5 separate regions of the Homo sapiens genome follow, and regions 2, 3, 4 and 5 are each linked to region 1. Evidence: promoter capture Hi-C in 16 types of primary human blood cells and fetal thymus (Javierre and others, 2016). All regions are on one chromosome and are shown on one strand. The core of a region is centred on a gene start or on the middle of the fragment in contact, and the rest is flanking DNA. Distances in the headings are between cores, read along the strand shown. Region 1 holds the start of NRDC (nardilysin convertase). Region 2 overlaps ZYG11B (zyg-11 family member B, cell cycle regulator). Region 3 has its middle 4.5 kb from the start of FAF1. Region 4 overlaps ORC1 (origin recognition complex subunit 1). Region 5 has its middle 3.1 kb from the start of COA7.

What was found. Contacts are between HindIII fragments. The CHiCAGO score rates a contact against its expected background, and 5 or more counts as called.
Region 2: a contact is called between a fragment that was not itself captured here and the fragment with the promoter of NRDC in region 1, in 1 of 17 cell types (fetal thymus). The highest score is 5.1, in fetal thymus.
Region 3: a contact is called between a fragment that was not itself captured here and the fragment with the promoter of NRDC in region 1, in 1 of 17 cell types (naive CD4 T cells). The highest score is 6.1, in naive CD4 T cells.
Region 4: a fragment that was not itself captured here is called in contact with the fragment with the promoter of NRDC in region 1 in 1 of 17 cell types (neutrophils); the score reaches 5.1 in neutrophils.
Region 5: a fragment that was not itself captured here is called in contact with the fragment with the promoter of NRDC in region 1 in 1 of 17 cell types (fetal thymus); the score reaches 8.1 in fetal thymus.

What each region holds. Positions count from the first base shown.
Region 1 is chr1:51,877,420-51,880,119 of GRCh38, reverse strand. It overlaps NRDC (nardilysin convertase), which reads left to right and starts at 1,393. Exons shown (of 31, transcript NM_001101662.2): 1 at 1,393-1,845. The coding sequence starts at 1,505. RefSeq lists enhancers at 102-655, 1,046-1,225, 1,109-1,403 and a silencer at 1,306-1,355. The HindIII fragment of the contact is 5,345 bases long and covers 1-2,069 here.
Region 2 is chr1:52,727,265-52,729,964 of GRCh38, reverse strand. The region is part of intron 1 of ZYG11B (zyg-11 family member B, cell cycle regulator); the gene reads right to left. Among named protein-coding and RNA genes, the nearest start is that of ZYG11B, 2.2 kb to the right of the region's middle. The HindIII fragment of the contact is 1,993 bases long and covers 405-2,397 here.
Region 3 is chr1:50,963,403-50,966,102 of GRCh38, reverse strand. It overlaps a transcript of CDKN2C not described here. Among named protein-coding and RNA genes, the nearest start is that of FAF1, 4.5 kb to the right of the region's middle. The HindIII fragment of the contact is 3,553 bases long and covers 1-2,700 here.
Region 4 is chr1:52,397,715-52,400,414 of GRCh38, reverse strand. ORC1 (origin recognition complex subunit 1) reads left to right here. Exons shown (of 17, transcript NM_004153.4): 4 at 2,552-2,700. Among named protein-coding and RNA genes, the nearest start is that of ORC1, 5.4 kb to the left of the region's middle. The HindIII fragment of the contact is 2,742 bases long and covers 27-2,700 here.
Region 5 is chr1:52,700,083-52,702,782 of GRCh38, reverse strand. No RefSeq gene overlaps it. Among named protein-coding and RNA genes, the nearest start is that of COA7, 3.1 kb to the right of the region's middle. The HindIII fragment of the contact is 3,859 bases long and covers 1-2,700 here.

The DNA of each region.
Region 1 (2,700 bases), core at 144-2,643:
GTTTACATATTTTACAGTTCCTTCCCATTAGGATGCAAGCTCCCCCAAGGCAAGGCTTTAAATTTTTGTTGTCGTTGTTTAGACAGGGTCTCACTGTGTCAACCAGGCTGGAGTGCAGTGTTGCAATCACGGCTCACTGCAGCCTCGACCTCCTGGACTCAAGCGTTCCTCCTGCCTCAGCCTCCTGAGTAGCTGGGACCACATGCACGCATCACCAAGCCTGGCTAATTTTAAAAAAGAATTTTGTACAGACGGGGGTCTCACCATGTTGTCCAGGCTGGTACCAAATTCCCAGGCTCAAAGCAATCCTCCCGCTTCGGCCTCCCAAAGTACTAGGATTATAGGTGTGAGCTATCACTATCACGCCCAGCCTAAGGCAAGTTTTGTTTTGTTCATGGTTGTATTCCTTGCATTTGGAACTCAGAAGAGGCCTCGAAAACCTTGAAGATACAGTAACTATCAACACATCTCCCTGCTTCACGTCTTTCCCCGCTCATTCGTATGTATGAGCTATGATCTCTTACCCCATGGTGTCAGTATAGTGCATCTTACTAATTTCAGCTGCTTTTTAGCTTTCATTTATGTTTGTATTTCCGTCACATTTTACATTGCTAACCAAAGACCACTGCTAGCGGGAAAAACTGGGAAAGGAGACTTGAAGGCAGCAGACGCTGCAGCTGCTCGATAAAAATTGGCCGAATTTAACAGGAGGCTGGAGGAGCTAAAAAACGTTTTCACACAGAAGAGTTAGCACATCCAGACTGGTCTTTTTAGCACTTTCTTAGGGCTTGAGGATGAAACCCCACCACTGTCGGGCCGACTGTAGGGTAGAGAAGAGCCAATTAGTATTTGCGGCGCTCGGGAGCAGCGTCCATCCGGCGGGTGTAGGAAAATACTTCCGGCGTTCTGGTTTTTTATGTGCTGAGTCACAGCCGAAGGCTCGCCCCGGGTCTGAGGAGTAGGGTACCCAAACTATGACACGAATGGGAAAATTTAAAACTTTGGAATTAATTCTCTGCACTCGTTTCTCAGTTTTCTCATTAGGGGAATATTTTTCTTTGACACGCGGAGCACTACTCAGTGGTTTCCACAAAACACACTCGTACGTCATAAACGCGCCGGGGGCCCTTCTCCCGTCGTCCTCCGCGCCACTCTCTCCGCTTCTTCTCCCTCGCCCCGCCCACTTTGGGTTTCGAAATGTTCGCTGGCTGTTCCGAGAATCAGTCCGGGTCACGTTGGTGCCTCTCCTTTCCTGTTCTGATTGGTTGCTTACGTGAGCGTGACTACTTTCTTGCCTCATGATTGGCTGAAATCAGTAGCGTCATCGGCGGCCGGGAGGGCGGAGGGACGAGGGAAGTCGGCGAGAGGGAGACTGGGTTGGGGGAGGGGTTCAGGCCTGTTCCCCGCGGCTGCGGCAGCACCAGGGCCGGCCGCCACCGCCTCTAGAACGCGGAGGAGGTGGGTCCTGGGAAGCGGGATGTCCATCGCTCCAGCTTGGTGGTGAATGCTGAGGAGAGTCACTGTTGCTGCAGTCTGTGCCACCCGGAGGAAGTTGTGTGAGGCCGGGCGGGAGCTCGCGGCGCTCTGGGGAATCGAAACGCGGGGTCGGTGCGAAGACTCTGCTGCTGCCAGACCCTTTCCTATTCTGGCCATGCCTGGAAGGAACAAGGCGAAGTCTACCTGCAGCTGCCCTGACCTGCAGCCCAATGGACAGGATCTGGGCGAGAACAGCCGGGTTGCCCGTCTAGGAGCGGATGAATCTGAGGAAGAGGGACGGAGGGGGTCTCTCAGTAATGCTGGGGACCCTGAGATCGTCAAGTCTCCCAGCGACCCCAAGCAATACCGGTGAGGGAGGAGGCTTGCAATGGGGAGGCGAACAGTGTGCCGGCTTCTCTGTCGGTGCCGCCGTCACTTCTTGTCTCCATGTCTCCCAATGGAGCAACAGGGCACACTTTCCACCCCAAATGCTTCCTTGGGTGGAGGTGGCAAGCGTGATTAGAGGCTTCCCTGTGGTGTCAGCTGGGCAAGTGGGAGATCTTGGGTTGTAAGACGTCAGAATGGGAGAAGCTTTTCGAGTCATTTGAATACAGTCGCTAAAGCAAGAATGAAGGTTTCTTTGAGGAACGCAGCCTGAATGGTGAGGGAGTCTTGGTATTATGTTACCAGGAAAGGTTGACGGAGTTGGATACTTTAATTTGGAGGACAGGATATTTAAGGGGCATATTATCACTATCCAAAATATTTGAGGGACACTTAAGTGATAGGTGAAACTAGTGGACGAAAGTTACCAGAGGATGGTGTGGCTTCAGTAAAGTAACTTTGCATCATATTTGGCCTAAGTTGAAGTGACTTGTTTCCATGGGTAGTTCTCCATTACCAAAACGGTTGGGCGACCTCGTCCAGGAATATATTAGAGAGGGCTTAGGTCTCAGTTGGGTGAGTTGTAAGGTTTCTTCTAACCTTGAAATTCTCTACTTTTGGTTTGTACAGGAGTTCTCTAAACATTTCTAATAATTGGTGATTCAGTCCCCACCTGAGTATTTTCCTTCAGAGGTAGCTTATTTCATGGAGTATCATGACTATGATGTATCTTGCGTGTGTGTGTGTGCGTGTGTGTTTTAATAAGAGTCTGGGTCTTGCGATGTTGCCCAGGCTAATTTCAAACTCCTGGGCTTAGGGAATCCTCCTGTCTTGGCCTCC
Region 2 (2,700 bases), core at 152-2,651, 850 kb before region 1:
GTGATGATGGGCACCTGTGGTCCCAGCTACTTGGGAGGCTGAGGTGAGAGGATCGCTTGAGCCTGGGAAGTCAAGGCTGCAGTGAGCTGTGATCATGCCACTGCACTTCAGCTTAGGGACAGAGCAAGACCCTGCCTCAAAAAAAAAAGAACTGCCACCTCTCAGGCCCTGCCCTCAGTTCACTGCAACCTCCACCTCCTGGGTTCAAGTGATTCTCCTACCTCAGCCTCCCGAGTAGCTGGGATTACAGGCATGTGCCACCACACCCAGCTAATTTTTGTATTTTTAGTAGAGACGAGGCTTTGCCATGTTGGCCAGGCTGGTCTCGAACTCCTGACATCTTAAACATCTCAACTATTCAAACACAACCTAATTAACATTTAACAAATATAAAATACAAAGCTTTATAATAATCATTCATTCAACTGTATTTATTATCTACAAAAATATTGCACGAGAAAGTGGCCTCTACTGATAATTCCTAGCTCAAAATAAGCTAATATTCTGCCTTCTCCTCACCTCTCCCATACATACACTGTTACTCTGTGTGTATATGTTTTAACAAGCAAGGAAAAATCAAGTTAATTAGATGCAAAGTTTAAAACATAATCATGCCTAATATGTCTGCTGTGGTCTGAATTCTGTCTCCCTAAATTCATATGTTGGAATCCTAACCCCCAAGGTAATGGTATGAGGAGGTGGGGCCTTTGGGAGGTGATTAGATCACCAGTTAGTGCCCACATGAATGGGATTAGTGCCCTTATAAAAGAGACTCCAGAGAGCTGCCTGGCCCCTGCCACCATGTGTGAAAACAGTGAAAAGGTGACTTAGGAAGAGCCCTCACGAGACACTGAATCCACTGGGGAACTGATTTTGGACTTCCCAGCCTTCCAAACTCTGAGAAATAAATTTCTGTTGCTGACAAGCTACCTAGTTTATGGTATTTTGTTACAGTAGATTGAATGGGCTAAGACAGTATCTTGCTAGCCTCATTTCCTACTACACATCTCCATTCTTGCATCCTTCCATGCTATATAAGGGTAATACTACTTCCTACAATGCATCCTAATTCCTTCCTACTTTCTTTCTTAAAAAAAAAAAAATCCCTGTGAGGGGATCCTTTCTACTTGCTACTCACATTCACAATGAGGCATTCTTCCCCTTCCCAAAATGATCTATATAAATCCTATTCAACTTTCAGGCCCAGCTCAAAGGACACTTTTAGATCCTAAATACCTCAAAGGGGAGTTCATAACTCCTCCCTCTCATACATTCATTCTCAATGGAAGGGCCCACACTTTCAAAAATCTAGCAGTGTAATGTCTTAGGTAGGATAGCTCTTTATTCTGAAAAGTATATCATCATACCTCACTCAATATCATTTTTGCATCAAAATTAAGATTCTCTGCCCAGGCGTGATGGCTCATGCCTGTAATTCTAGCACTTTGGGAGGCCAAGGTGGGAGGATGGCTTGAATCCAGGAGGTCAAGACCAGACTGGGCAACACAGCAAGACTCCATTTCTACAAAAAGTTTTACAAATTAGCGGGGCACGGTAGTCCGTGCCTGTGGTACCAGCTACTTGTGAGGCTGAGGTGGGAAGATCACTTGACCTCAGGAGTTCAAGGTTGCAAAGAGCCATGATTGTGCCACTGCATTCCAGCCTGGGCCACAGAGCAAGATCGTCTCCAAACAACAATTCTCAAACTCACTCTTTCTGTGTAGTCCACTAGTTACCTCAAATTTCAGTTTAAGTTTATATTAGTCAGGTGGGAAATGAGACCATAAAGTGAATCATTCAAGCACCTAGCTGGCCTGGGCACTTGGAATAATAAGTAAGGAACGGTTGCTACCTAGAACTTACATTCCACAGGGAGAAACAGGTTAGCATACAACAACAGTGTGTGAAAGTGAAGGAGACAAACACAGGAAAATGACAGACTAAAAATGCAGGAGTGAGTTAGGGAAAATTCATAGATTAAATAATTTTATAGTATATTACTTTTCTAAAAAACTGCTGGAGGGAAAAAAAGAAACTGACTAACCTCCTAGGGGAACATAATTATCAGGACTTAGTTTTGCCTTATTCCTCCCAGAGACCAAAATTTAGCTTGTTGCATATGATGGAGCAATGTTTTCAATAAATGTACAGCAAACCACTTATAACCCAACTCAATGAAAAAACCAACTGAAGCCTCAACCTATTTTCAGACAGAAAGAAAATTTGCAAATATAAGGTTCTCCCAACTAAAGGCAGACAGGGCAAAACAAATGAACTCTTTAGAAGGTTTAAAGAGACTGTCACAACCTGCCAACCTGATTGTCAGTCCTCAAATGCCCTTGGTCTCTGCCTCCAAATGAAAACAAATCATTTGTTTTTAGTAATAATAGCCAAGCTTGTAAATAAGTATTTTTAAACTTCTCCAACTGCACCTCCACATTAAAAGATGCTCAAAATAAAAAAAATTCAAAACATTTTTTAGCTATTTCTGTCAAAAGACTAGATCTCTCCTGAGGTCACAGTATGCATGCTGGCCCTCACTTCACTGCTCTGTAACACACCACCACTTCGATTTTGCAATGACACTAGGTGAATAGGCTTCCAGGATCTCTTCAATGCCTCCAAAAACGAAAAGGAAGAAGCAAACCTATAAATCCCTATCTGCCCGCCCTACAGCTCCCGGGAAGCAACAGTCCTCAA
Region 3 (2,700 bases), core at 91-2,590, 910 kb after region 1:
AAAAAAAAAAAAAAAGAGACATAGAATAGAAATGTGATTCAGTCAAATTATTCTGTGCTTTTCCCTCATTGACATAGAATAGAAATGTGATTCAGTCAAATTATTCTGTGCTTTTCCCTCATTGACTCAAGTAGGTACAGTTTCTGAATGATTAACTTTTGGAAATGTGTATGTGGTATTTACCATTTATTTAACTGGTCTCAAAGTTTTCCTTTTTGTTGTATTTATAGATCAACAGAGGTGGAAAACAGACTGGGCACCCCCAGGCAGCCTTTTATGTGACTTTATAATTGTAGCTTCAGCATTTTATTTCTGAGATTCAGTGGTTTTTTTCATATAGGTACTTATTTATGAAAATTTTTTATTATTTTTATTTTATTTTATTTTTGAGACAGGTTCTCACTCTGTTGCCCAGGCTAGAGTGCAGTGGCTTGGTCATGATCATGGCTCACTGAAGCCTTGACTTCCCAGGTCCAAGTGACCCTCCTACCTCAGCCTCTGGAGTCGCTGGGACCACAGGCATGCTCCACCATGCCTGGATAATTTTTCTAATTTTGTGGAGATGGGGTCTTACTATATTGGCCAGGCTGAAAGTTCTTTTTTTTTTGAGACAGAGTCTCTCTCTGTCATCAGGCTGGAGTGCAGTGGCGCGATCCCGGCTCACTGCAACCTCCACCTCCAAATTCAAGCCATTCTCCTGCCTCAGCCTCCTGAGTAGCTGGGATTACAGGCGCCCACTACCACACCCAGCTAATTTTTGTATTTTTAGTAGAGATGGGGTTTCACCACGTTGGCCAGGATGGTCTCCATCTCCTGACCTCATGATCTGCCCGACTCAGCCTCCCACAGTGCTAGGATTACAGGTGTGAGCCACCGCACCCGGCCTGAAAGTTCTTCGTTAAAGTAAGAAGGAAAAAAAGCCCAGTAAGCAACCCAAAAGCTGAAAAATAATAGCAACAATTAATATTTGTATAGTGTTTCATGGTTATAAAATATGATGCATATCTATCTATCTATCTATCTATCTATCTATCTATCTATCTATATTTTTGAGACTGAATCTCGCTTTGTCGCCCAGGCAGAGTGCAGTGGCGCGATCTCAGCTCACTCCAATCTCTGCCTCCTAGGTTCAAGCAATTCTTCTGCCTCAGCCCCCGAGTACCTGGGATTACAGGTGCGCACCACCACGCCCGGCTAATTTTTGTATCTTTAGTAGAGACAGGGTTTCACCATGTTGGTCAGGCTGGTCTCGAACTCCTGACCTCATGATCCGCCCACCTTGGCCTCCCAAAGTGCTGGGATTACAGGTGTGAGCCACCACACACAGCCAATGCATATATTAATCTTTACAACAATTCTGTGAAGTGACTGTGATAATAATCCCCGTATTTCAGGTGAGGGAATTGAGGCTGGCAGAAATTGTGATTTAAAGTCAGTGAATACTAGACATAGGATTTGAATTCAGTTCTTGGGGCTCCAAACCTTATACTTTTTCCATTAGTCCAGGGTCCGCCACTAGTATCCTAAACAACACTAAATCACTAGATGAAATACATATGTGCAGTAGCATTAGTTTTCTCATGAATTACATTATGAGCAAGAAGTATTATTTAAGAAATTGGTTATCTTAACCAAAGAATCAAGGTTATCACTACCAGTAATAACTCAAGTTGATAACACATGGCCTTGATATGATGTAACAAGGACATATCACCTCTGCGGTGATACACATCTCAGTGTAATTCTGAGAATACATTAGGTAATCCCAGATTGAGGGAGATTTTATAAAGTTCCTGACTCTTCAGAAGTGTCCACTGAGAAACTGTCACAGATTGGAAGAGGCTACTGAGACATGACAACTAAATGTAATGTGGTATTATTGGACCATGGAACAAGAAAAGGACATTAGTGTAAAAATCCAAATAGAGCCTCCAGAATTTAACTAGTAGTATTTAGCAGTGTTAATTTCCTAGTTTTGATAGATGTACCATGTTAAATAAGATGGTAACATTAGAGAAAAATGGGCTAAAAGCATATAGGAACATTCTGTACTGTCTTTGGAAGTATTCTAAAATAATTTCAAATAAAAATTTAGTAAAATATAAATAATATTTATTATTTATATTGGAAATAAAGATGATATAAAAGTTTCTTTTAAAAGAACATGGAGATTCTAGAAAAAGATCTGTATTTAACTTAGGCTGAGCTCCATGAACTACTGTGGGCCAACTATGAGAATAGATAAATTAAAATTACTTTTCTTTGCTCGTGCATGGACCAAATTTCTTTACATTTCCTTCTTTTGGTTTATGACACTTAACTGAAATTGTTTCTCTTAAGGATGGAATTCTGGAGAAATGAAAAATGATTTTTTTTCTCCTAATTCAGTATTTATTTTTCTTCCCTTCTCTTATCTGTAGTAGATAACCACTCTGGATGCTAGGTATCCAACCATGAAGAGTTAGGCCATAGGGAAGAAACAGTGTCTTTGGGAATGGTATAAACTAAGCAGCATGGAAGGGAAATTGTACAGAGGCAACATGGTAAGTGGAAGGAGCACTAATTTGACCTAGTCTTGAATCCTAGGTCTGTCACTCTGTAGCATGACTTTGAGCAAATTCTTAACTTGCCAGAGCAGCTTTATATTCTGTAAAGTAGTAGTTGTAAATATTAAATGAGATAAAGTTTGTAATGTATCTG
Region 4 (2,700 bases), core at 148-2,647, 520 kb before region 1:
TTACAGAAAAAAACAAGTCATAAGCTTTAAATTGTGTGCCATTGTGAGTAATGTGGTGAAATCTCACGCTGTCCCACCTGAAATGTGAGTCATCCCTTTGTCCAGTGTATCCGTGCTGTACAGTATGTGTGTGTAGGAAAAATCATAGCATATACAGGGTTAGTGGCAGCATCTGCAGGTTCAAGCATCTACTGGTCTTGGCGCGTACCCTCAGCAGATAAGGGGAGAGTACTGCACATAGATAAGGAGGATTTTGGACATACTTTCTCTTTGACATACTTAGAAGTATGGAGAAAAACCTCATCAAACTAATGTCCAGTAGAGGCAGCACATCAGAATCATGGGCTTCGGTGTATAGATTCTAGAATCCTCTCTTGGTGCTCCATTGGATGACTTTAGTCTTTCTCTGAAGAAAGCTAAGCAGGGAAGAGAGGATGATGATGAGGCACTAATGAGTGTTCTTTCGGTTGGAGCTATTGCTGGTACGGAGTGATACTAATCGTATGCTGTAATAATAAAGCTGAAGATTGCAAGCATTTGCCAGAAGTCATCTCAGTGGTTGATGCTGTAATTCTTGTGTGTGTGTGTGTGTGTGTGTGTGTGTGACAGTGACAGAATCTTGCTGTGTCACCCAGACTGGAGTGCAGTGGCACAATCTCAGCTCATGCAGCCTCAACCTCCTGGGTTCAAGCAGTTCTCCTGCCTCAGCCTCCCAAGTAGCTGGGATGACAGGCACCTGCCACCATGCCCAGCTAATTTTCTTTTTCTTTCTTTTTTTTTTTTTTTTTTTTGAGACAGAGTCTCGCTGTGTCGCCCAGTCTGGAGTGCAGTGGCGCCATCTCGGCTCACTGCAAGCTCTGCCTCCCGGGTTCAAGCCATTCTCTTGCCTCAGCCTCCCGAGTAGCTGAGACTACAGGCACCCGCCACCATGCCCAGCTAATTTTTTGTATTTTTAGTAGAGACGGGGTTTCACCGTGTTAGCCAGGATGGTCTTGAGCTCCTGACCTCATGATCCGCCCGCCTCAGCCTCCCAAAGTGCTGGGATTACAGGCGTGAGCCGCCGCACCTGGACAATTTTTTGTATTTTTAGCAGAGATGAGGTCTCACCATGTTGGGCAGGCTGGTCTCCAACTCCTGACCTCAAGTGATCCGCCTGCCTTGGCCTCCCAGAGTACTGTGATTACAGACGTGAGCCACTGCACCCAGCCTGATGCTATAATTCTTGCTAGGATTTTTGTTTTGCTGCTGTTTGATGCTGTCTTTATAGTCACTGATTTTTATTTGTTCGTTGCCTGTGTTTAGAGTAGCTCCTCTCAGAGGCCTTTTTGTCATTCCTTTGCCGGCTGATAGCACCATTAGGAAATGGAGCAATCCCAGAAGAGCGGGTGTGTGGGCTGGAATTAGATTGCTGCAGTTGGTCATGTGACCTTTGACAAACTCTTTAAGGTCCCCCGTCACTTGATTTCTTTGCCTGAAAAGGGGGATAGCTGTAGTACCTACCTTGTAGGGTTATTAGAAGGATTAAGGATCGGCCAGGTGTGGTGGCTCATGCCTGTAATCCCAGCACTTTGGTAGGCCGAGGCAGGCGGATCACGAGGTCAGGAGATTGAGACCGTCCTGGCTAACACGGTGAAACCCCGTCTCTACTAAAAATACAAAAAAATAATTAGCTGGGCGTGATGGCGGGCGCCTGTAATCCCAGCTAATTGGGAGGCTGAGGCAGGAGAATGGTGTGAACCTGGGAGGCGGAGCTTGCAGTGAGCCAAGATCAAACCACTGCACTCCAGTCCAGGTGACAGAGTGAGACTCCGTCTCAAAAAAATAAAATAAAATAAAAGATAACACATGTTGGGCCAGGCATGGTGGCTCATGCCTGTAATCCCAGCACTTTGAGAGGCCAAGGCGGGCGGATCACTTGAGGTCAAGAGTTTGAGACCAGCCTGGCCAACATGGTGAAACCCTATCTCTACTAAAAATATAAAAATTAGCCAGGCGTGGTGGCACAGGCCTGTGGTCCCAGCTACTCGGGAGGTTGAGCCAGGAGAATCTCCTGAACCAGGGAGGCAGAGGTTGCAGTGAGCCGAGATCACGCCACTGCACTCCAGCCTGGGGGACAGAGCAAGACTCCGTCACAAAAAAAAAAAAAATTTTGGCGGGAGGTGGTGGCTCATGCCTGTAATTCCAGCACTTTGGGAGGCCAAGGTAGGCAGATCACGTGAGGTCACGAGTTTGAGACCAGCCTGGCCAACGTGGTGAGACCTCGTTTCTACTGAAAATACAAAAATTAGCCAGGTAGGATGGCAGGTGCCTGTAATCTCAGCTACTCAGGAGGCTGAGGCAGCAGAATCACTTTAACCCAGGAGGCAGAGGTTGCAGTGAGCCAAGATGGGGCCACTGCACTCCAGCCTGGGTGACAGAGACTCTGTCTCAAAAAACAAAAAACAAAACCACACATGTCAAGGGTTAAGCACAGTGTCTGGCACATAGGAATTGCTCAGTAAAGTGTCCTTGAGTTGTCTTAACCTTTCCCTTTCCACCAAATTCTTTCTAGACTCTGATCCTCCTCCTAAGAAACGTGCTCGAGTACAGTGGTTTGTCCGATTCTGTGAAGTCCCTGCCTGTAAACGGCATTTGTTGGGCCGGAAGCCTGGTGCACAGGAAATATTCTGGTATGATTACCCGGCCTGTGACAGCAACATT
Region 5 (2,700 bases), core at 12-2,511, 820 kb before region 1:
CTCATACAAAAATTAATCTGAAATGGATCATAGGCTTTCTAAATATAAGATTTAAACCATAAAATTTCTACAAGAAAATATAGGATAAAATCTTAGTGACTTTGGGTTTGGCAAAGACTTCTTGAATACGAAAGAAAAAGCACAAACTATTAACAAGAGGAAAAAAATCAATAAACTAGACACACCATTAAAATGAAAAACTTTTGGTTTTGAAAGACACTGTTATAAAAACAAAAAAGGCAGGCCAAACTGGGAGAAAATATATGCAAAACTTCTGATAACGGACTTGAATATATAAATAACTCTTAGAATGCAATAATAAAAAACAATCCAATAAAAAGGGGGCGAAAGATTTTAACAAACATGTCATCAAAGATACACAGATGGCAGATAAGCACATGAAAAGATGCCAACATTATTGGTCACTCAAAAAAATACAAACTAAACCTATGATAAGATACTGTTATATTCACTATAATGGCTAAAATTTTAAAAGACTGACCACACATCAAATTATGGTGAGGATGTAGGGCAACTAGAACTGTCAAACACTGCTGGTAAGAATGTAATGGTAGAATCACTTTAGAAAACAGTTTGGGTGTTTCTTAAAGTTAGATATATACCTACCATATGATCTAGCCATTCCACTCCTAGGTATGAACCCCAAAAATGGAAATGAATGCCCATACAAAGACACGTACACAAATATTCACAGCAGCTTTATTTGTAAGCCAAAAACTGGAAACCCAAATGGATAAACAAATTGTGATATATCTACATCATGAAATGTCATTCACTAAGAAAAAGAATGAACTATTAATACGTGTGGTAACATGGATGAATCTCAAAATAATTATGCTGAATCGAAGAAACTATACAAAAAGAAACAGTACTTACTGTATCATTCTATTTAGATAATATCCTACAAAATGCAACCCATCTTCAGTGACAGAAAGCAGATTAATGGTTGCTGGGGAGGGAATGAAGTACAAAGTCACATGAGGAAATTTTGAGGTGATGAATATGCTCATTATCTTGATTGTGATAATGGTTTACAGGTGTATACATATGTAGAAACTCATAATTGTTACTTTAAAGTTATGTGCAGTTTCCTGTATGTCAATTAGACCTTCATTTAATGTTTCTTATAGCTTTAAGAAAAACCTGGGTCAAAAGAGCAAGAGTCAGTGATATTCTAAGTTCCATTAATGAAAACCAAATTATTTGGAATGATAATCCCTCTTCTTAATTCAGTCAACAATACTTGGGCACCTAATATTGCTGGGCACAATCAAGACACTGTTATTATAACAAGAATGAGCTAAGACCACATGGACGATGTCAAATTGAAGCAGAGAACTTAAGAAGGCAAGCCAAAAAAAAAAAAAAAATACAGGGGAAAAGCACTCTAGGGCAGAGGCAACAGTTAGTTCAAACGGATCACGAGGTCAGGAGTTCGAGACCAGCCTGGCCGATATGGTGAAACCCCATCTCTACTAAAAATACAAAAATTAGGCGGGCATTGTGGTGGGCGCCTGTAATCCCAGCTATTCAGGAGGCTGAGGCAGGAGAATTGCTTGAAACCGTAAGGCGGAGGTTGCGGTGAGCCAAAATCACGCCACTGCACTCTAGCCTGGATGAAAGAGCAAAACAAAAAAAAGTGACCTCTTACTTGGTTGAGCCTCTCATCACCAACTAACTCTCTTGTGCCCTCTACCGCTCAGGTGATCTCATTTCAATGCAGTTCAACTCAGAAAATAAAGGGAAACATTCCCAGATTTTAGTAATCGACATCACCCTGCTCTATTCTATCATCAAGCCCTATTCTATTCTTGGCCCTGTGACCAGCATACAGGACACAGAGGTCACAGTCTGGTGGGGAACACAGACTTTCATGCCATTATTGGCATGACAAGAAACATTCCTGGAACAGGAATGACTTTGAGCCAGGCGCTCTGCCAAGCACATTGCATACATGAACTTGTAGTCCTTCTGACAGCCATTACAAATGGATCTGCATTTACAGAAGAGGATTCAGACTCACAAACATGATTGGTTTAAGGTTACAATTTAATAAACATGGAACATGGATTCTGAACTAAGATCTGTCCCCACTCCAAAGCCAGTTCTTTCTTTCCTACTACACTATACCAGAATAAACCAAGTGGTGTGGAACACCAAAATGGGAGCATCTAAATCTAATTTGAATGTGTGTAATTGTTGTGTCTGGGAAGACTTTACATAGGAGAGTATTTCCGATTTGTGTCAAAAAGGGTGGTCCAGGCATCAAGAGCAGAGGTAAACAGGGACACAAACTTGGGATCTATTCAGAGAACAGAAGGTTGGTGGGATGTGGGGGAAGAGAGGCAGAAAATAAGGCTAGAATCAGATTGCACAGGGTCTTGAAGGCCATCCTAAAGAAGATGACCTCAAACCAAAGTTCAAGGATTCCCATCCTGGGCCATGTGTACTGAGGAGTCCCCTAAGGTGATCAGGGTATAAGAAACCACAGGTAAATGTGGTATATTGCCTGGAATGTCAATTTTACTCAAAGGCTTGGGGGAGAAAAGGCAATCTTCTGTTATCCTATGAAAGATGTATTATGGGGAAATGAATGTAAAATCCTATGAATTTAAAAAATAAAACTGGGATTTCAGACATTATTGGCTGCCTTCCAATAAATAAGTGGTTGGAAATAGT